Regions from separate parts of the Homo sapiens genome. Here region 1 is linked to region 2. Evidence: promoter capture Hi-C in 16 types of primary human blood cells and fetal thymus (Javierre and others, 2016). All regions are on one chromosome and are shown on one strand. Each heading gives the region's core, a stretch centred on a gene start or on the middle of the fragment in contact. The rest is flanking DNA. Distances are from core to core; before and after follow the strand shown.

Region 1 (4,060 bases), core at 60-2,559, 8.2 Mb before region 2:
CCATGTTGGCCAGGATGGTCTCGATCTCCTGACCTTGTGATCCGCCCGCCTCGGCCTCCCAAAGTGCTGGGATTACAGGCATGAGCCACCACGCCCGGCCTCTTTTTTTTTTTTTAACCTGGTTTGAAGTGTGAAAGAAGTTTGATTTTTAAAAAAATGTTTACCTGACACCAGGTTTCCAGTAAATTTTCAGAAATATTAGTATGATTTCTTGGAGGAGTATGGTTTCTTGGAGGCAGGCCGGGCGTGGTGGCTCACACCTATAATCCCAGCACTTTGGGAGGCCGAGGCAGGTGGATCACTTGAGGTCAGAGTTCAAGACCAGCCTGGCCAACATGGTGAAACCCTGTCTCCACTAAAAATACAAAAAGTAGCGGGGCGCGGTGGTGGGCGCCTATGGTCCCAGCTTCTCGGGAGGCTGAGGCAGGAGAATCACTTGAACCAGGAGGCAGAGACTGCAGTGAGCTGAGATCACGCCACTGCACTCCAGTCTGGGCGACAGAGCGATACTCCATCTCAAAACTAACAATACAAACAAACAAAAAAGAATGGGGATGCAGATGAGAAAAAACAAGCAATCATCGAACAAGCCACCTCAAGGTGGAGTACCATGGAACGTCAGAGGCTTCATGAAAGTCAGAAAAACTGAAGAGCACTTGGGGTTAGGAATTCAAAGGTGGGCAGCTCTTATACAGACCTTGCCCTCAACAAACCTATAGTCTAATGAGAGTCGATAAACACTTAGCAAAGTATTAATAATATCCATGGAGTGTGTAAAGCCCTAGTAAAGGAGGTATACTGGTGGTAAGAAATACCTAATTTTGTGAGGTGGGGGAATGGAAGGATGGGGGAAGGATTGGGTGGTCAGGGACGCGGTTTAAGCTGAGACTTGAAAGATGATGGAGTAGTTGACCAGGCGGTCAGAGGAACTTGGAAGCGCTATGATTCGGGATCCCACAGAGAGAGATTCAAGGGCACCTTGGCAGATATGGTTTACAGTGACCTCTGGTGTGACAGATCATTAGCATTGTGAACATGCAAAAACGATGAAGTTCTGCCCTTCATTTCACCAGAGCTGGGCTCGCCTCAAATTCCTGGTTCCTTATTCCCGCTGGCTCCCACCAACTGAAAAGCAGAGGTGGCTCGCAAGCGGCGGGGCTCTGCCCTAGATTGCCAGTAGGCGCTCGACTCACATCCAGCTCCACCCCGGGAGATGCCCCAGAAGCCCCGCCCACGTCCAGGCACGTTCTTCTGGGGCTAGTCGCAGGGGCCGCCCCGGCACCGGCGCTCACGTGACCCGAGGTGTGACGTAGGAGGAAGGAGACGCCATTAGAGGGAGGCAGAGAGGGATCGTTCTTCGCTTTTCCTCCGGTGCCTGACGTGGTGGGCTGGGGCCCTTCATTCTCGGACTTTCCCTCAGCCCTTCCAGGCCTCGCCCGAGGAGGGCGTGGGGACAGCGCCCGGGTCGGCGGGGCCGGGGCGGTGGGGGCTGAGCCGGCCGTGGCTGTGAAGGCGCTGCCGCGGCTGTCGGGAGGGCGGCGCGACACTCGGGCTCGGGCGGCCGGGAAGCGACGGGATGGCTGCGGCCGGCGGCGGCGGCGGCGGGGCGGCGGCGGCGGGCCGAGCCTACTCGTTCAAGGTGGTGCTGCTGGGGGAAGGCTGCGTGGGGAAGACGTCGCTGGTGCTGCGCTACTGCGAGAACAAGTTTAACGACAAGCACATCACCACTCTGCAGGTGCGGACCTCGGGGAGCGGGAGGGGGCGCCTCAGGGCCCCTACCCCTCCGGGGCTGGGGAAACTTTGCCGCCCTGGTCCCCTGGATGTAGGCTGGCAAATCTCAGGCCTGTCATCTCCGCCTTCGGTTTACCTTTCCGAATTCGCCCTGGGGAATCACCAGGTCGGGGCAGCCTGTAGACGCGAGGACAGGCTGTTGGGAGGGAAGTGGAAGGGCCCTGAAAAGTCCCCAGTGTTCCCCGTGGTGGCTGCGCACGTTGTGGTCTCCGTCCGTGGGCTGTTTTTTCCCATTTACTGCAGTTCCTGGGTCCCAGGTGTCAGTGTTGCAGTCTCCAAATGTTAGCTCCTTTTCTTTCTTTCAGAATTAGGAACTTAGCTGCGTATTTGATTTTGCGAATTAGGTGATTTGTAACTTCAGCGCTTACTGATGACTAAGTGTTTATGCAAGTTCCATTTTGTCCTGAGTAACAGGAATGGCAAAAGAGCCATCTCTGGAGGTTTTTTGAAATGACCGCTTGCCTAGGCGTGTTACGCAGTTTCATTGCAGCCTGCGTGGGTCTGACTTGCGGGTCACTCATATTCTGCGAGGTCGATTGACCCACGCTGAAACATCAAGTGAATACTGGCCAACAATTGGTCCCCAGACTAAAAGCCGCTGCTGTTACTCAGTTTCTTTACCTGTAAAATAAAAGGTCGGCTTTCTTCCACAGGTACATTGGAAAGGTGTTAAAATGTTATCATTGATTGAGAGTGAAGCCAGGCCTTTGAGGGAGTTGTACTCACCCCACCTCTCCCAGAGAAATCAGTTTTGATGTTATTAGGAGAAATTTATCCTACTAATTTGACTTACCAATTTGGTCAAAGGCAGTAAAGTCTAGTGGACTTTTGAGCCTGATTGTCCAGGTTCATGTCTCACCTCCATCCATTTAACTAGCTGTGTCATACTGGGTAAGTTACTTAACCTGTCTGTGCCTGTTTCTTCTGTTAAAATGGCCATAATAGTAGTATCTAGCTCATAGGGTTGTCAGGATAAATATACAGAAAAAGCACTGATGACCTGGTCCAGTGTAAGTTGTCTGCCTTTAATTACCGCCCCAACTTGCACAATAGGTCTTAATTAGTAAATGTGTAGTATGTGAGAACATCGACACTACTTAATAGAATGCGTAATCTCCTAATTGTTGTGACATTGGATGTTTGATGCTATTATTAAACTACTGAGTCTAGAATTTACAAGACGCTCTGGCTCTGATTCCATGTTCTATTTTTACTCCTCTGATTTTACTCGTATGTAAAGCATATCTGAAAAAGTGAGTGCCAGGAAACTGCATTTTTAAAAAATCCTTGTACCAGAACACTGACAAAATTTTAATAATGAATTGTTATTGTTCAGTGTCATTAGTGAGAGCCTGGTGTTTTAGATCAAGAAAATTCACTGGACAAATACCTAGGATCATTTGGAAGTTTAGAGATTTACTTAGGTAAAGTAGTAACAATAGCTAACATTTAGTGAGTTCTTACTGTGCTGATTATTTTGCTTGCTTTCTGTCTGCTTGCTTTAATTCTTATAACACCCTATGAAGTGGATAGTTTAGTGGATAGCCCTACAGCTGAGGAAAAACGTTTAGTTGAGTAATTTTGCTGGCAGTAATATTACCACAAGTCAATGGGGCAGGAGTGTCCAAGCTCAAATTTGAACCCCTGTCTGACTTCAGATTTTGAGCAATTAAATCACATTACCTCGGTATATTGATAAATAACCCATCTAGTGTTTTCCTTTATGCAAAGATCTAAGATAAAAGAAAACTATTGTAATTGAGGTCTCCACGTTTTTTTTCAAAAGATAACTTGAGTCTTGCCCTGTCGCCCAGGCTGAAGTGCAGCAATTTCCACTCACTGCAACCTCCACCTCCTGGGTCAAGTGATTCTCCTGCGTCAACCTCTCAAGTAGCTGGGATTACAGGCACACGCCACCACATCTGGCTAATTTTTTTGTATTTTTAGTAGAAACGGGGTTTCACCATGTTGTCCAGACAGGTCTCGAACTCCTGACCTCAGGTGATTTGCCCACCTTGGCCTCCCAAAGTGCTGGGATTACAGGGGTGAGCCACTGCACCTGGCCATACCCTTTCAACTTAAAAATTACACTTCCATTTTAAATTTCTAAAACATTCTTGAAACTGAAAGCAGAGTAAAGGTTTTTAAATATATGAAAAGCCACTGTACTCCACAGAGGGGAGGATGAAGTTATAGTAGATATCCAGTATTAATATCTGAATTATATTATAGAATTTAGGATTTTGTTGTACACCAATGTATGTAAACA
Region 2 (4,354 bases), core at 1,437-3,936:
AGTGAAGAAAACATAACACAAATTTTTAATGCTTGATATTTTAAAGACTTTGGCTTCACCGATTTAAGGCATTTGCAGATATGGAAAAATGTTATGGAAAAGGGGAGGCGGTTGGAGATTATCGGGTCAAACCCACACTCACAGTGACAAAAAGTGACAGAAAGATATTACGCAAATGGAGTAAATTTAGAAACTTCTGTTTGTCAACTAAAACAAAATACCCAATAAAGATATATCTACACAACACCAAACTGACCACTGAATTCAGTTAATCAGGAAGACATTGGTAAGTCTGACAATTCTTGTAACGTGTGAATATTGAGAGGAGAAAAAAAGATCTTAAGAAGGCAGTTAAATGTATTTTCTCTTCCTCCCTAAACCAGTATCACAATAATGTAAATATCAAAACTTTTCGTCTTCCTCTAAGCCAATACAACTGGGTTCCTCCACAACAATAGTAACTTTAAATTTCTATTTGACAATTTGAATAAAACATATTGATGCGAACCATTATCCAATTATCCTGACCTCCTACAGTAATAATCGTCTTTCAAAATCTGTTTCACACTAAAACGTGTAAAGTACACTTGAAAGAAATTTGAAGATTCATCTTATATAATTACATTATCATTTTTAATGCCAAAAGTTTCCTTCATTCTCAACACCATGGTTTTAAAATTTTACGAGTTATGATATGCCTTAAATAAACTTCACCCAAATAAAAAGTTTGCTATGCATTAGAGAATCTAAATTAATGAAATTGAGAAAGCGCTAGACACCCTGCTATATTTTTACTGGGTGCCACATTTTTAATTCCATATTTGTCCTGCAATGTGTCAATCATTTCAATATATCCAGTCAACTTTGTAAACAAAGGCTATACTCCAAGTCTGATAAGAGAATTCCATTACACAAAATTTAAAATGGTCATCACTCCCTTAAACAGTAAGCAGGACAAGGAAAAATGTCACTACACACCTTTTTTTTAAAAGGCATCAAGTTAATATTCATGAAATATAAAGCCTTGAGTTTCAACCTCCCAAACAAGTTTTTACTACAACATTATTCAAAATAAGGCTATGCATCTTCCACACACAACCAAGGCAACTTTGAGATAGCTTACAAGTCTTTTCATTGTTAAGGGGAAGCTATCGCTGCAAAGTCATTTTCTATTACAGTTATTCCAAGTTGCCCGCTAAGAAAATAGAAAAAGCCTATGTTTTGTCACCTATTACCGTCACTTAAAAATTGCTTTTTATGCATAACTCTACGTGGTTGTGTTGCTTTTGGCCTGTTAAAGGCAAGGCAACATTATCTCTGGATTGCCAATAGTTTCTCCTTATTTGGCTAACATTGAGAGATCCCAATCAGACTACTATAAAACTTTAATATGCACAAAGCATCCATTTTGAGAAAAGTTTGTGACCAGCTTTCTTTTTTCCCAACCCCAAAAGAAAAACCAGAGCTTGGTAACCGGCTTTGAAAAGAGTGTCCCCTATTTATTCTTCTCTTTCTAACACCAGTGCACACCCGAGGACCTGGGGCTCAAGGATCTCTGACACTGCGGCAAACTTCGAGTATCAGACTCAACACGTTCCGGTCCGGAGGTGGGCAAGCCCTTTAGAGGGCTTCCTTACTCTACCCACTTCCATCCCCTTCCTTTCAGCCGGTGCAGATCAGCTAATTACACCCTGTTTTCCCCTCCCCAGTGACCAAGAGTAATAAATGAGAAAACAGGAAATCGTTCGTTCAGGGCACTCGGCTTAGGGCTCTAGATTACTATTATTATCATCATTTGTAATCAAGTCCTAAAAAGTGCAACAAATCCAATGCCCACCTACAAGTCAAAGATGTTCATCTGCCTAACCGTCCGTAATGCCCCTTGTTAGTTTTCTTCCTTCAGCATCCACCCCTCCGAATATACCACTGACACCGGGGCCCAGGCACAACCCCACTACACCCCTCCTTGTCTCGACCCCAAATCCCAGACTTATCCACGAATGGCCCTGGGGCCCCAAACGACCACAGTTCCTTTTCCCCTATGCCCCGGAAATCACCCGGTTCCCAACTCCACCAGCAACTGTTCTGAAGGGGGGCCTCAAGCCCAGCGCCCTCCCTTCCACCAGCTCTCCCTCCCGCCCTCTGGGGAAACCGCCCCCTCACCCCGCAGCAGGGAGTCTCCCGCCGCCCCCAGCCTCAAGAGGTGGAGAACTGAGGGCAGGCCCGAGCAGGAGGCCGACGAGAACCCTCACGGTCAGGAGAGCCGGCGGCGGGGCGCACAGACCTGGTGCAGGGCAGTGAGTCCGTCCACATTGGCGTAATTGATGTCGGCGCCGCGGTGCAGCAGCTTGAGGACCTCGTCCGTGTCGCCGCTGGAGCAAGCAGCCAGGAAGACGGCGCCATCGTCGAACTTCACCTTGGTCTTCTGGCGCTTCACCACCGGAGGCTCGAGGTCCGTCTCGGAGCCGATCCAGCGTTTCAGCTGCTCGTTCCGCTTCTGCTTCGCGTCCGCCATCTTCATCCCCTCTCCTGCCGCCGGGTCTTCTTATCGCGAGGGGGGGAAGGGGGAGGCGGAGAGGGAAGAGAGGGGAGGCAGGGGGTGTGTGAATGTTTCTATGAGTGCGGGCCAGAGGAGGGCTGGGAACCCGGAGCCGACGCTCGAGACTTCCAGTATCCCACAGAGCACTGGGGCGGCGCACCCGGCCGAGCGGACCTCCCTTCCTACCACAGAAGCCCTCCCGCCCCCAGCACGGCCACCCGTCACCGGCGGCCAATCTAACGTAACTTCGCGAGATCCGGACTGGGAGGCGCCCTTCGACCAGTGCGCATGCGCCCTGGGCCTGTGCCCGCCCCAGGAAGAGCGCTCCCGCGAACTGCGGCGGTGGTGGCTGGGCCACCAGAGGGAAGCGGGTGTGGCCCAGGCAGCGGGGGCTGGGACAGACCTGGAAAGGAGGAAGCGGGGAAGGAAGGTTGTCCTGTCGGGCTGGGGGCTCCCGGGAATCCGGAGGCCAGCAGTGGAACCGCAAGGCTCTACAGGGCAGATCTGCCTCCCGTGCTGTCTCAGCTACGCCGAGTCGTTGGCTCAGGGCGGAGGATTTTCCTATTGGCCGCGTTATTTGAATGGAATGGAGGATAGGTCGTGAAGTAGGTGCTGCTGGTTGATCTTTCTAAGGAACTCAGATGAACTTGGGCATGTCAGAATTAATAACCTTTTAAAAGTGGGGTCTGTGTGGCCGAGGGTTTTAATGGTAAGTTCTTGAGGTGACCACCTATTGACAAGGGTTGACCTGCTGTAATTGCTGTGGCTTCCTGCCAACCCCCACTTTAGAAATGTTTTTCTTCCTCTCTTTACTTGTTTTGTTTTGCTTTCTCTCACGCTTGGGTTCTCTTCTTTCTTCCTTCAGTGCTTTAAGCCTGTCTCGTACTACCCATGAGCTTAGCTCAGCCTGATTACTGGTCCTTACCTTTTAAGGGATTTCTGGTTACAGCTCCATCTCTTTCTAAGGAGGGGTAAAGACCTAGCTGCGTCTAGCATTTAAACGGAACGTTAAGGAAGGCAATTAATTCAACCACTATTTATTGAATACCTACTATGAGCCAGTAACTGTACTAGGCACTGAAGATACAATGAAAAATATGACATTTATTTGAACCACCTCTTGAGTTCAGTCGCCCAAACAAGACTAATTTATCATCGTCATAAAAAAAAGACTTTAACTTTGCCTTGTATGACCACACGCGCACACACATAGGATTTGTAATACTGATGTCTTATGAGCCATCTATCTACAATCTCCACCAATTGATTTTACTGAACACTGCATTGTTACCATCCACTACTATTTTTAGAGCATTTAGAAAAGCCAAGATAAAAACCACAAAACCTTACCATGGAAGTTTAGGGGTCATCTAGACAGAGTCCCTCAAGAACTAATTAATTTACTTAATTTTACCCAGAAGTAGGATTAGAATTCACTCAGCAAATACTATGCACCTGTTCTGGGTCAGGCATTGTTCTAGGTGCTGGAGATAGAGCAGTGAACAAATAAGCTTTTCTTACTCTCAGCATGATGCCTTTTCCAGTGGACTACTTCACAGCCTATCATATTGAGAAATAAAATAATTGAGTAAAACGTGATTAGGAAACTGTCTGCCTGTGAGACAATTTTCTGAACCACAGTTATTAGGATAGCGATAGAATCCAGGTCAGGGTAAAAATATTTCCTCTGAAAACGTTGTAGGAATAGAAAATGAATGTAATATTCATAAGATATACCATTGTATGTTCATTACATACATTAAAGATAACATCAGACCTTTGAATACTCATGGTGTTAGGTACTGAAAAACATTG

The links. The method cuts DNA at HindIII sites, captures the fragments that hold promoters and counts their contacts. A CHiCAGO score of 5 or more calls a contact.
Region 1: a contact is called between the fragment with the promoter of RAB21 here and the fragment with the promoter of PPP1R12A in region 2, in 1 of 17 cell types (naive CD8 T cells). The highest score is 6.8, in naive CD8 T cells.

Annotation. Positions count from the first base shown.
Region 1 is chr12:71,753,554-71,757,613 of GRCh38, forward strand. It overlaps RAB21 (RAB21, member RAS oncogene family), which reads left to right and starts at 1,310. Exons shown (of 7, transcript NM_014999.4): 1 at 1,310-1,735. The coding sequence starts at 1,577. RefSeq lists enhancers at 1,082-1,371, 2,012-2,201 and a silencer at 1,352-1,631. The HindIII fragment of the contact is 5,965 bases long and covers 1-4,060 here.
Region 2 is chr12:79,932,411-79,936,764 of GRCh38, forward strand. It overlaps PPP1R12A (protein phosphatase 1 regulatory subunit 12A), which reads right to left and starts at 2,687. Exons shown (of 25, transcript NM_002480.3): 1 at 2,285-2,687. The coding sequence starts at 2,521. PPP1R12A-AS1 (PPP1R12A antisense RNA 1) reads left to right here and starts at 2,871. Exons shown (of 2, transcript NR_146535.1): 1 at 2,871-3,144. RefSeq lists enhancers at 1,507-2,072, 1,873-1,932, 2,073-2,636, 2,273-2,572, 2,619-2,913 and 1 more and a silencer at 2,103-2,192. The HindIII fragment of the contact is 9,894 bases long and covers 1-4,048 here.